Regions from separate parts of the Homo sapiens genome. Here region 1 is linked to region 2. Evidence: promoter capture Hi-C in human tissues and cell types (Jung and others, 2019). All regions are on one chromosome and are shown on one strand. The core of a region is centred on a gene start or on the middle of the fragment in contact, and the rest is flanking DNA. Distances in the headings are between cores, read along the strand shown. Region 1 overlaps DIAPH1 (diaphanous related formin 1). Region 2 holds the start of PCDHGA12 (protocadherin gamma subfamily A, 12).

Evidence for each region. The method cuts DNA at HindIII sites, captures the fragments that hold promoters and counts their contacts. A contact is called where the count stands out against the background at its distance.
Region 1: a fragment that was not itself captured here is called in contact with the fragment with the promoter of PCDHGA12 in region 2 in 1 of the 25 tissues and cell types used here (adrenal gland).

What each region holds. Positions count from the first base shown.
Region 1 is chr5:141,571,009-141,576,102 of GRCh38, reverse strand. It overlaps DIAPH1 (diaphanous related formin 1), which reads left to right. Exons shown (of 28, transcript NM_005219.5): 15 at 957-1,136; 16 at 1,895-2,611; 17 at 4,063-4,177; 18 at 4,667-4,675. Among named protein-coding and RNA genes, the nearest start is that of DIAPH1-AS1, 15 kb to the right of the region's middle. The HindIII fragment of the contact is 3,111 bases long and covers 1-2,805 here.
Region 2 is chr5:141,429,257-141,433,994 of GRCh38, reverse strand. PCDHGA12 (protocadherin gamma subfamily A, 12) reads right to left here and starts at 3,488. Exons shown (of 4, transcript NM_003735.3): 1 at 812-3,488. The coding sequence starts at 3,235. All of the region lies in intron 1 of PCDHGA1 (protocadherin gamma subfamily A, 1), which reads right to left. All of the region lies in intron 1 of PCDHGA2 (protocadherin gamma subfamily A, 2), which reads right to left. The region is part of intron 1 of PCDHGA3 (protocadherin gamma subfamily A, 3); the gene reads right to left. It also overlaps PCDHGB1, PCDHGA4, PCDHGB2, PCDHGA5, PCDHGB3 and PCDHGA6, and 10 more genes. RefSeq lists an enhancer at 3,453-3,592. The HindIII fragment of the contact is 7,635 bases long and covers 1-4,738 here.

The sequences.
Region 1 (5,094 bases), core at 1-2,500, 140 kb before region 2:
CCAGGGGAAACCTTTCCAGTATAGGGTAGTCATTGGAGAAAGTGATATGGATGTCTTCATAGGGAGCTCTAGTGGTGGACTTTCAGTTCTTGGGCTACTGGGCAGGAAAAGAAAGACAGATGATACTCATGTAATAGTAATGGCACTCTCAGGTTTGCTTGGCATTTTAGGCCTCTTACCCCTAGAACAATAGGAACTGGGGTCCTTAGAGCAATAGAACTAGAGGATGTCTGAGTTCTCTTTTTCTCTTCAGTTTTTAAGAACGTTTATTGTGGTTAATAGGTTTTTGATCCTAGAGAATATTGGGATTGTACTACCATGGTCGTCCTCGTTAAATACCTTTAAAATCTTATTTTTTTTAACTATAAAAATAGGGAATCTGTGGAAATGAACTGATTCCCCTCTCCTTTAACCTTGTTTTATTTTCATTTTTATTTTTATTTGTTTTTTTTTTGAGACGGAGTCTCACTCTGTCATCCAGGCTGGAGTGCAGTGGCGCGATCTCGGCTCACTGCAACCTCTGTCTCCTGGGTTCAAGCAGTTCTCCTGCCTCAGCCTCCCAAGTAGCTGGGATTACAGGTGCCCACCACCATGCCCGGCTAATTTTTGTATTTTTGGTAGAGGCTAGGGTTCACCATGTTGGACAGGTTGGTCTCGAACTTCTGACCTCAGGTGATCCACCTGCCTCGGCCTCCCGAAGTGCTGGGATTACAGGTGTGAGCCACTCCGCCCAGCCAAACCTTGATTTTAAGGTCAGAATCATGGTGCTTTTTTCCCCCGAGCATGGCCTGGATTTATGAGCTCTGTAAATCAAGTACTGGCCCAGAACAGGAGGCAGTGGGGGGATTCCAGCACCCCCAGGCAAAAGAGGAGGTAGGGAGAATTATGGGTAATAATACTTGTGCTTCTTACTGAGATGGAGAGCTTGCTGGGAGCCTGATTCGTTTTTTCTCTAGTTGGACTCAGAGTTAACAGCCCGACATGAGCTACAGGTGGAAATGAAAAAGATGGAAAGTGACTTTGAGCAGAAGCTTCAAGATCTTCAGGGAGAAAAAGATGCACTGCATTCTGAAAAGCAGCAAATTGCCACAGAGAAACAGGACCTGGAAGCAGAGGTGTCCCAGCTCACAGGAGAGGTAATGCCTGAGCAGGGAAGGCAGAATGACCTGTAACCTCAGGATGCACATGGCTTGGAACAGGAGTCAGTCATCTCGCTCCTAGGGAGGGTTCAGCTACTAATAGGTAATCTAGTTACATGGTGCATATTTTAAAAATAATATACTGGTTTTTGGTTTGTGTTGGGGGTAAGTAATACATAAGACAGAAAATCTGGAAAATACAGAAAAACATTAAGAATAAAGTAAGTTTCATTACCACCCAGAAATAAAAGTAATAAGTCTCCTAATAAATTAGGAATAAAAACTAAACTGTTAAAAATTGACTAATTTCCTGTTATTTTAGTCACCTCTGCACAGATTTATCCTTACACACTCTCTCTGCAGTAGTAAATACTTAAATGATCTTTGATGTCTGATAACTTGATTACTTATGTGGTTATATAATCATCTGTGTAGCACATATATTAGTTATATAACTAGAACATTTAATTTACTTGACCTTTACATTTTCTAATCAAGGGAGGGTTTAACATAAAGGTTGAAATTGTCTTCTTAATACAAAGCATGCTGAACTAAGAACATGAAAACCTGAATTCTAGTTTTGGCTCTGCTGCCAAGCCGTGTGACTTTAGGTGATCATGTCATCTCTCTGACTCCTCTCAGTTCCTCCATTTGTAACATGAGAAGTTTGGATTAAGTAGTTTATTAGGTTCCTTCCAGTCCCAGTAGTCCCTGAAGTGGGGTGAGAAGTACTCACATTGATGTTATTTCTGTAGGTTGCCAAGCTGACAAAGGAACTGGAAGATGCCAAGAAAGAAATGGCTTCCCTCTCTGCGGCAGCTATTACTGTACCTCCTTCTGTTCCTAGTCGTGCTCCTGTTCCCCCTGCCCCTCCTTTACCTGGTGACTCTGGCACTATTATTCCACCACCACCTGCTCCTGGGGATAGTACCACTCCTCCTCCTCCTCCTCCTCCTCCTCCTCCTCCACCTCCTTTGCCTGGGGGTGTTTGCATCTCCTCACCCCCTTCTTTACCTGGAGGTACTGCTATCTCTCCACCCCCTCCTTTGTCTGGGGATGCTACCATCCCTCCACCCCCTCCTTTGCCTGAGGGTGTTGGCATCCCTTCACCCTCTTCTTTGCCTGGAGGTACTGCCATCCCCCCACCTCCTCCTTTGCCTGGGAGTGCTAGAATCCCCCCACCACCACCTCCTTTGCCTGGGAGTGCTGGAATTCCCCCCCCACCTCCTCCCTTGCCTGGAGAAGCAGGAATGCCACCTCCTCCTCCCCCTCTTCCTGGTGGTCCTGGAATCCCTCCACCTCCTCCATTTCCCGGAGGCCCTGGCATTCCTCCACCTCCACCCGGAATGGGTATGCCTCCACCTCCCCCATTTGGATTTGGAGTTCCTGCAGCCCCAGTTCTGCCATTTGGATTAACCCCCAAAAAGCTTTATAAGCCAGAGGTGCAGCTCCGGAGGCCAAACTGGTCCAAGGTAAGAGTTTCTGTCTATTTCTTCACCAGTCAATCTTTTTTTTTTTTTTTTTTTTTTGAGACGGAGTTTCGCTCTGTCGCCCAGGCTGGAGTGCAGTGGTGCGATCTCGGCTCACTGCAAGCTCCGCCTCCCGGGTTCACGCCATTCTCCTGCCTCAGCCTCCCGTGTAGCTGGGACTATAGGCGCGCGCCACCACGCCCGGCTAATTTTTGTATTTTTAGTAGAGACGGGATTTCACCGTGTTAGCCAGGATGGTCTCGATCTCCTGACCTCGTGATCCGCCCGTCTCGGCCTCCCAAAGTGCTGGGATTACAGGCGTGAGCCACCGCGCCCGGCCCACCAGTCAATCTTAAGAAACAGTTTCAGTTTTCTACTTTGTATTTTGTGCATGGATGGGCTACGCCTTAAGGCTTTCATCTTTCTATCTTTAAGCTTCACTCATGCTTATGTTTATTCAGGAGATATTAGGCATCTTCTTTATTCCATACATCACCACGGAGAGTTCTGTGAACCCTGTATTCTGAATTTAATCTTAACTTAATGTTTTTTGCCTTTTCTCTGAGGCTGTGAATACCATGGTAACACACAGTTTGATAATAGTCATTCACCAGTCTGCAAACTACTGATAATTGTGCTGATCCCAAAGTCATGGATTTATGAATCCACTCTCCTATCCCAATTCCGCAGGATGTGAGTTACACAGGCCATTTTTTTTTTTTTTTTTGAGTTGGAGTCTTGCTCTGTTGCCCAGGCTGGAGTGCAGTGGCATAATCTCTGCTCACTGCAACCTCAGCCTCCTGAGTAGCTAGGATTACAGGCGTGTGCCACCATGCCTGGCTAATTTTTGTATTTTTAGTAGAGATGGGGTTTCACCATGTTGGTCTGGCTGCTCTCGAACTCCTGACCTTGTGATCCGCCCACCTTGGCCTCCCAGAGTGCTGGGATTACAGACGTGAGCCACCACACCTGGCCTACATAGGCCATATTTGCATGCACAGTATTGTTCCCATGATGTGTTTGAGATGCCTGTGATTCTGAGTGAGTTAGCCTTTTTCTTCTAGAAACCAAGTTAATATAAAGGACCTTAGGGATTTGCTCATAAAATGAGCAAATTTGGCACAGTTAGCCAAACTGGTGGGAGAAATTTAATGATGAGCAAGACTTCTCTGAAATAAAGCCTTAATGGTTATGAAGCTAGAGGATTTGGAGTTAGGAGGAGGATACGTAGTATATATATGAATCTAGTTCTTGAATAATCACCAATTAACAGATGAACTGGAAGTATTCTCTCCTAATCCCACTGCAGCTATTCTGTGCCTCAAGTTAGTCTTATTCTAGTAAGACATTGCTGATAATCAGCCAGCCACCTATTTTACAGCCTCATCCGTTTTCTAGGACGGAAAGTACAGGGCTCAGTTTACTAATTCTTAACACCCTGCCTTTATCCACAGCTTGTGGCTGAGGACCTCTCCCAGGACTGCTTCTGGACAAAGGTGAAGGAGGACCGCTTTGAGAACAATGAACTTTTCGCCAAACTTACCCTTACCTTCTCTGCCCAGACCAAGAGTGAGTACCTTCCTCTTTGATGCAAAGGTCCAGTGTAGGGCTTAGAATATTTTTTCATTAGGTTTCCTATTCCCTTCCCTTCCCTGGGTGAAGATAGAAAGGGTATGTTGGATGGAAGACTGATGGATTTTCCCATTCAAAAGAAAGAAAAGATGTTTTTGTATTAAATATTATGGAGTTACTTGGTTTGGGAAAGAGAACTGTTGTATGTAGGTATTTTGTATCAGTATAACTTGTTAGGGATATGAGATTAAAGTGACAGAGCTTGATTTGGGCCCATTTTGATACTTTTGAACAGATTCTGGCACTGCCTTAAGGTGCAGTTTCCAGTTCTAAGTACATAATTAATAAGGGTTGGAAAGAGTCTTTAACAGTTTGGGTGACTGAGTGACTGTCTACAGTAACAAGAACCATATGTGATTCCTTTTCTTCCTTCCATTTCTTTCCAATATTGGATGCCTTCTCCCTCCTGGCACTTTGCTCCTGAAGCTTCCAAAGGTAAGAATACAAAAGAGCCTTTTAGTTTGGTCTCTTGAATATTAGAGAAAAAGATGAAATAGATATAAAGGAATTTCTCATTAGAAAACTGAGACCAGAGATTGAGGGTTGACTTGTCTTTGCTAGGTGTTTTTTGTTTTTGTTTCCTCCCCTGGAGTTCAAAATGACCAATAGCTTTGGCATTAACTAATAGGGAGGAAAGTTTGCTTCCCGTTAAACTACCACATACTTAATCTCTTTAGAAGGTGAGGGACAACGTAAGCAATAATACTATTACCTTACATTTGTGCTGTTTTACAATTTTCATAGTGCCTTAACATATATGACCCTATTTGATATGCAGAGAAGCCTTATGAGACAGGCAGGATGTGTATCATCTCCATTCTGTAGCATATATAGACTCTGAACAGTTAGGTAGC
Region 2 (4,738 bases), core at 2,239-4,738:
AATATAAAACTCTTCTTCAAGGTAGAAAGCCAATTAACAACTGTAGAAGAAACAATGGAATTATAAAATCTTCATTTGGAGGTGATTGTAATAAGTGATTAAAGCAAGTGTCATCAATGGATGAAACTAGAGGATAAAGTTTTTTTTTTTTTTTTTTGAGATAGAGTTTCACTCTTGTTGCCCAGGCTGGAGTGCAATGGCACAATCTCAGCTCATTGCAACCTCCACCTCCCAGGTTAAAGCAATTCTCCTGACTCAGCCTCCCAAGTAGCTGGGATTACAGACATGCACCACCACGCCCGGCTAATTTTGTATTTTTTTAGTATAGACGGGGTTTCTCCATGTTGGTCAGGCTGGTCTCAAACTCCCAACCTCAGGTGATCCACCCGCCTCGGCCTCCCAAAGTACTGGGATTACAGGCGTGAGCCACCGCGCCCAGCCAGAAAAGAATATCTGATAAGGGCGGGGCACTGTGGTTCACGCCTGTAATCCCAGCAGTTTGGGAGGGAGAAGCAGGAGGCTAGCCTGAGCCCAAGTTTCAGATCAGCCTGCTCAACATAGTGAGACTCCTGTCTGTACAAGAAAGTAATAGATAGATAGATAGATAGATAGATAGATAGATAGATAGATAGATAGGCAGACAGTAGGTGGCTTGCACCTGTAGTCCCTGTTACACCGGAGGCAAAGGTGGGATAATTGCTTGAGCCTAGGAGTTTGAGGCTGCAGTGAGCTATGATCGTACCGCTGCATTCCAGCTTGGGAGACAGAGCAATTAAAAAAAAAAAAGAAAGAAGATTTGATATAAACTCACCTCAATTAACCCATGACTGTCTTTAGAAAATACCGAATCACCTGACAGCAAAAGGGGCTCGCTTTTTTCAAAGCTCTCCTGGCTGACGAGCATGTCTGCATAGTTGGGCTGGGGGAAGATCAGGTGACTCTTCCGCGAGTCCGTGGTGAGGGAAACCTCGTGGGAATAGGTCTGCAGGAAAGCCTGCACCCCGTCCACGCCCACAAAGTGCGACGCCGGCGCTCCTGTCAAGCCGCCTCCTGAAGCCTGCAGCAGGCGTGACTTGTGCCAGCGCCGCAGCCTGAGCGCCAGCAGCAAGATGACGAAGGCCAGGAAGACGCAGGAGACCGCGGCCACCGCTACCACCAGGTACAGAGTGAGGTCTGAGGTTTCAGAGTTAGCTGGAGACTCGAGGCTGCCGAGGTCCGCCAGGACTTGGGGGATGCTGTCGGCCACGGCCACGGTGAGCGTGACAGTGGCGGAGAGAGGGGGCTGGCCGTGGTCCTGGACGGCCACTACGAGGCTCTGCTTGAGCGCGTCTCTGTCCAGCAGGGCTCGCGCCGTGCGCACCTCGCCCGTGTGCAGACCCACCGAGAAGAGTCCCGGCTCGCTGGCCTTGAGCAGACGGTAGGACAGCCAGGCGTTCTGGCCGGAGTCTCTGTCCACCGCCACCACCTTGGTCACCAGGTAGCCGGGCTCTGCGGAGCGGGGAGCCAGCTCCACGCCAGTGGAACCGTCCGTGGGGAGGGCGGGGTACAGGATCTCGGGCGCATTGTCGTTCTGGTCCAGCACGAACAGGCTCAACGACACGTTGCTGCTGAGGGGCGGGTGCCCGTTGTCCCGCGCCATCACTTTCACTTGCAAGTCTCGGAACTGCTCGTAGTCGAAGGAGCTCAGCGCATACAGTACCCCAGTGTCGGAGTTGATGGACACGTAGGACGATAGGCTTGCCCCTTGGATGGTGTTCTCAGCCAGGGAATAAGTGATCTGGGCGTTCTCTTCACAGTCGGGGTCGTGGGCGGTCACAGAGACGAGGGAAACTCCTCTGGGATTGTTCTCTGGGATATAAGCGGAATAGGAGGCCTGAGGGAAGACCGGCGGGTTGTCGTTGGTGTCTGCCACGTTCAGCGAGATATGAGTTTCCGTGGATAGGGGCGGGGTTCCCCGGTCAGTGGCGGTCACTGTGATGTTGTAGCTAGGAACCTGTTCCCTATCCAAGACTATGTCTGTGACTAAACTATAGTAATTTCCGTAAGATTTTTCTAATTTAAAGGGCAGATTTCCTTGGATGAAACAGATCACCTGTCCGTTTTCCTCAGAATCTTGGTCATTTACATTTAAAAGGGCAATTAATGTCCCTCTGGGAGAGTTTTCGGGAACCGAGCTGGCGAGAGAGGTGAGGACCACTTCTGGGGCATTGTCGTTCACGTCCAGAACAGTGATCAGGACTTTGGCTCGCGCAGAATATCCTGCATTATCCATTGCTTGCACTTCCATCTGGTAGAATCCTGACTCCTCGTGGTCCAACTCCCCTATTGTTGATATTGTCCCTGAATTACAATCTAGTTTGAAAACTTGGGCCGCCTTGTCGTCCACATACCGGAAGGAATACCTCACTTCCGCATTGACTCCTTCGTCAGGGTCGGTAGCGTTGACTACAAGCAGCTGCGTGCCCAAGGCCAGATTCTCCGGAACGCTCGCGCGGTACTCGGGCTGAGCAAACGCTGGTGCGTTGTCGTTCGCATCCAGAACCATCACGCGGATGCGCGCGGTGCCTGTGCGCACCGGGTCGCCCCCGTCGGAGGCCGTAAGGACCAGGTGGTGAGCAGCCTTTTCTTCGCGGTCCAGGGCGCGTTTCAGCACCAATTCGGGGTACTTACTACCGTCGGCTCCATTTTGCACGATGAGGGAGAAGTGAGTGTTCGGGCTGAGCTCGTAGCTCTGCAGAGAGTTCTTCCCGATATCCGGATCCCAGGCGTGGGGTAGAGGGAACCGCATCTCAGTGGCTGCATTTTCACTAATTTTTATTTCTAATTCACTTTCACGAAAGTAAGGCGCATTGTCGTTAATGTCCCTTACTTCTACTTCTACTCCATATATTTTCACTTTATCCTCCATCAGAATGTCTAGATTTAATTGACACTTGATGGCCCCCATACAGAGCTCCTCCCGGTCTATCCTGCCCGCCGTGACCAAGCTGCCGCTGCGCGGATTCAGGGCGAAAAGCTGCGTCCTACCTCTGGGGATGATGCGGACTCCGCGCTCCGCGAGCTCCCGGGGCTCCAGCCCCAGGTCCCTGGAGATGTCGCCCACCCTAGAGCCTTTCTCCAGCTCTTCCGGAACTGAATAGCGTATCTGGGTGCATCCGGTCTCCCACAGAGTCCCCAGGAGGATTCCCAGCAGGACAAGCCCTTTGTAGTCCCGGTGCAGTCGCGCAGGAATCATTCTTATCTTCCTCCAGAATTATTTTCAATTCTGCCCTTAACCACTGAAGTCAGGAGCAGTTCCTTCGCCCATAGAATGGGACAGTTGGGAAGTCAGAGCTCCTCCGTTGTTTCCACATACTCCCAGGGATGGTTCATTCCTAGCTATCTGCTTTGTGCTTCAGGCGCGTGCAAGGCGAGCAGGATCTCCGCTTTTCTCTCCCCGATTGGTGAACAGCGGCGCTCAGAGTCCTAACCAATTACTGCACAATCTTGAACTCCCAGAAAGGATATTTCGTTTTTATATCTTAAATAGCTCCACCTACTGTTCTTCAAAAGGGGATGGAAATCTACCGTATTCGCTTTAATAGAAACTTTAGTGAGCTTTTTTTTTTTTTCCCAATGAGCTTTTTTTTCCCCAATGAGCTTTTAAATGAATTGGAAGTTTCTATAAACAATGATTTTAATCTTATAATGTTAGTGCATCTGCTTTGAGATTACTGTTCCCCCAACACACCTATTATGGAGATGTCTCCCTAGGAGTTTCTCTTTTTGACAAATCATATAATATAATAATTTAAACTTTCTGATTCAGCTATAATTTGGGGAAAATATTTTTAAATAGATTCCTTGAATGATCCTGAATGGAAGGATTACTTTACCAGGTTGTTGACATGTAACGCTTAAAAATCAAATTTTCATGATATTATGGAAACCTAAAAATGATATGTGATTGTATACATTATCAGAATCACACTTAACAAGAACCCAAGTGAAAAAGAAACATTAATATTTTTAGCATAAAGTAGAAGCATTCCAACTTGCATTGACTGGAAATAATGGAAGTACTCCAGAATTCTATTAATACATTATATTTCAAAAATATTTATTGTTCAGGAAACTTAGTAAAAGAAAATTGGTAGTCCAAAGAATGTTACAGACTTACCTTTTCCTGGGTAACTGACCTAATTGTAATTACTGAGAATTACTGGTAATACTTTTGGAAGCCCATCAAAATATAGGGAAAAAATTCTCCCTAAGAAATAACTGGCTACGTACTTTCATGAGCGTAAATATTTATACTGTAAAGATATTTGCTAGGCATAAAATAAAATAATATATTTTAAATTGGGAAGAAATATATAGGTAGCTGTGAGAAAATATCAGACATAAAATTGAGTTTACTTGAATTACAAGAATCAAAAGTAAATGTAACTGAATATTATCAAATCATTACCATGTTCTTATTTTTTTAAGCTTTTTTCTCTGCCAGGCACAGTTTCAGGCAACTGTAGTCTCAGCTACTCTGGAGATTGAGGTGGGAGGATTACTGTAGCCCAAGAGTTTGAGTCCAGCCTGGGCAACATAATGAGACCTTAATCTCAATTTTTTTTAAAAAAAAAACACATTTTCTCCATTTTCTCATGCATTTTCTTCAAAATTTATAGTTAATGGATTAAAGAAAAAGCCTTATATACTCAAATATTGATGTCCCAAGAAACATCACAGGAAAAAAATTTATTCC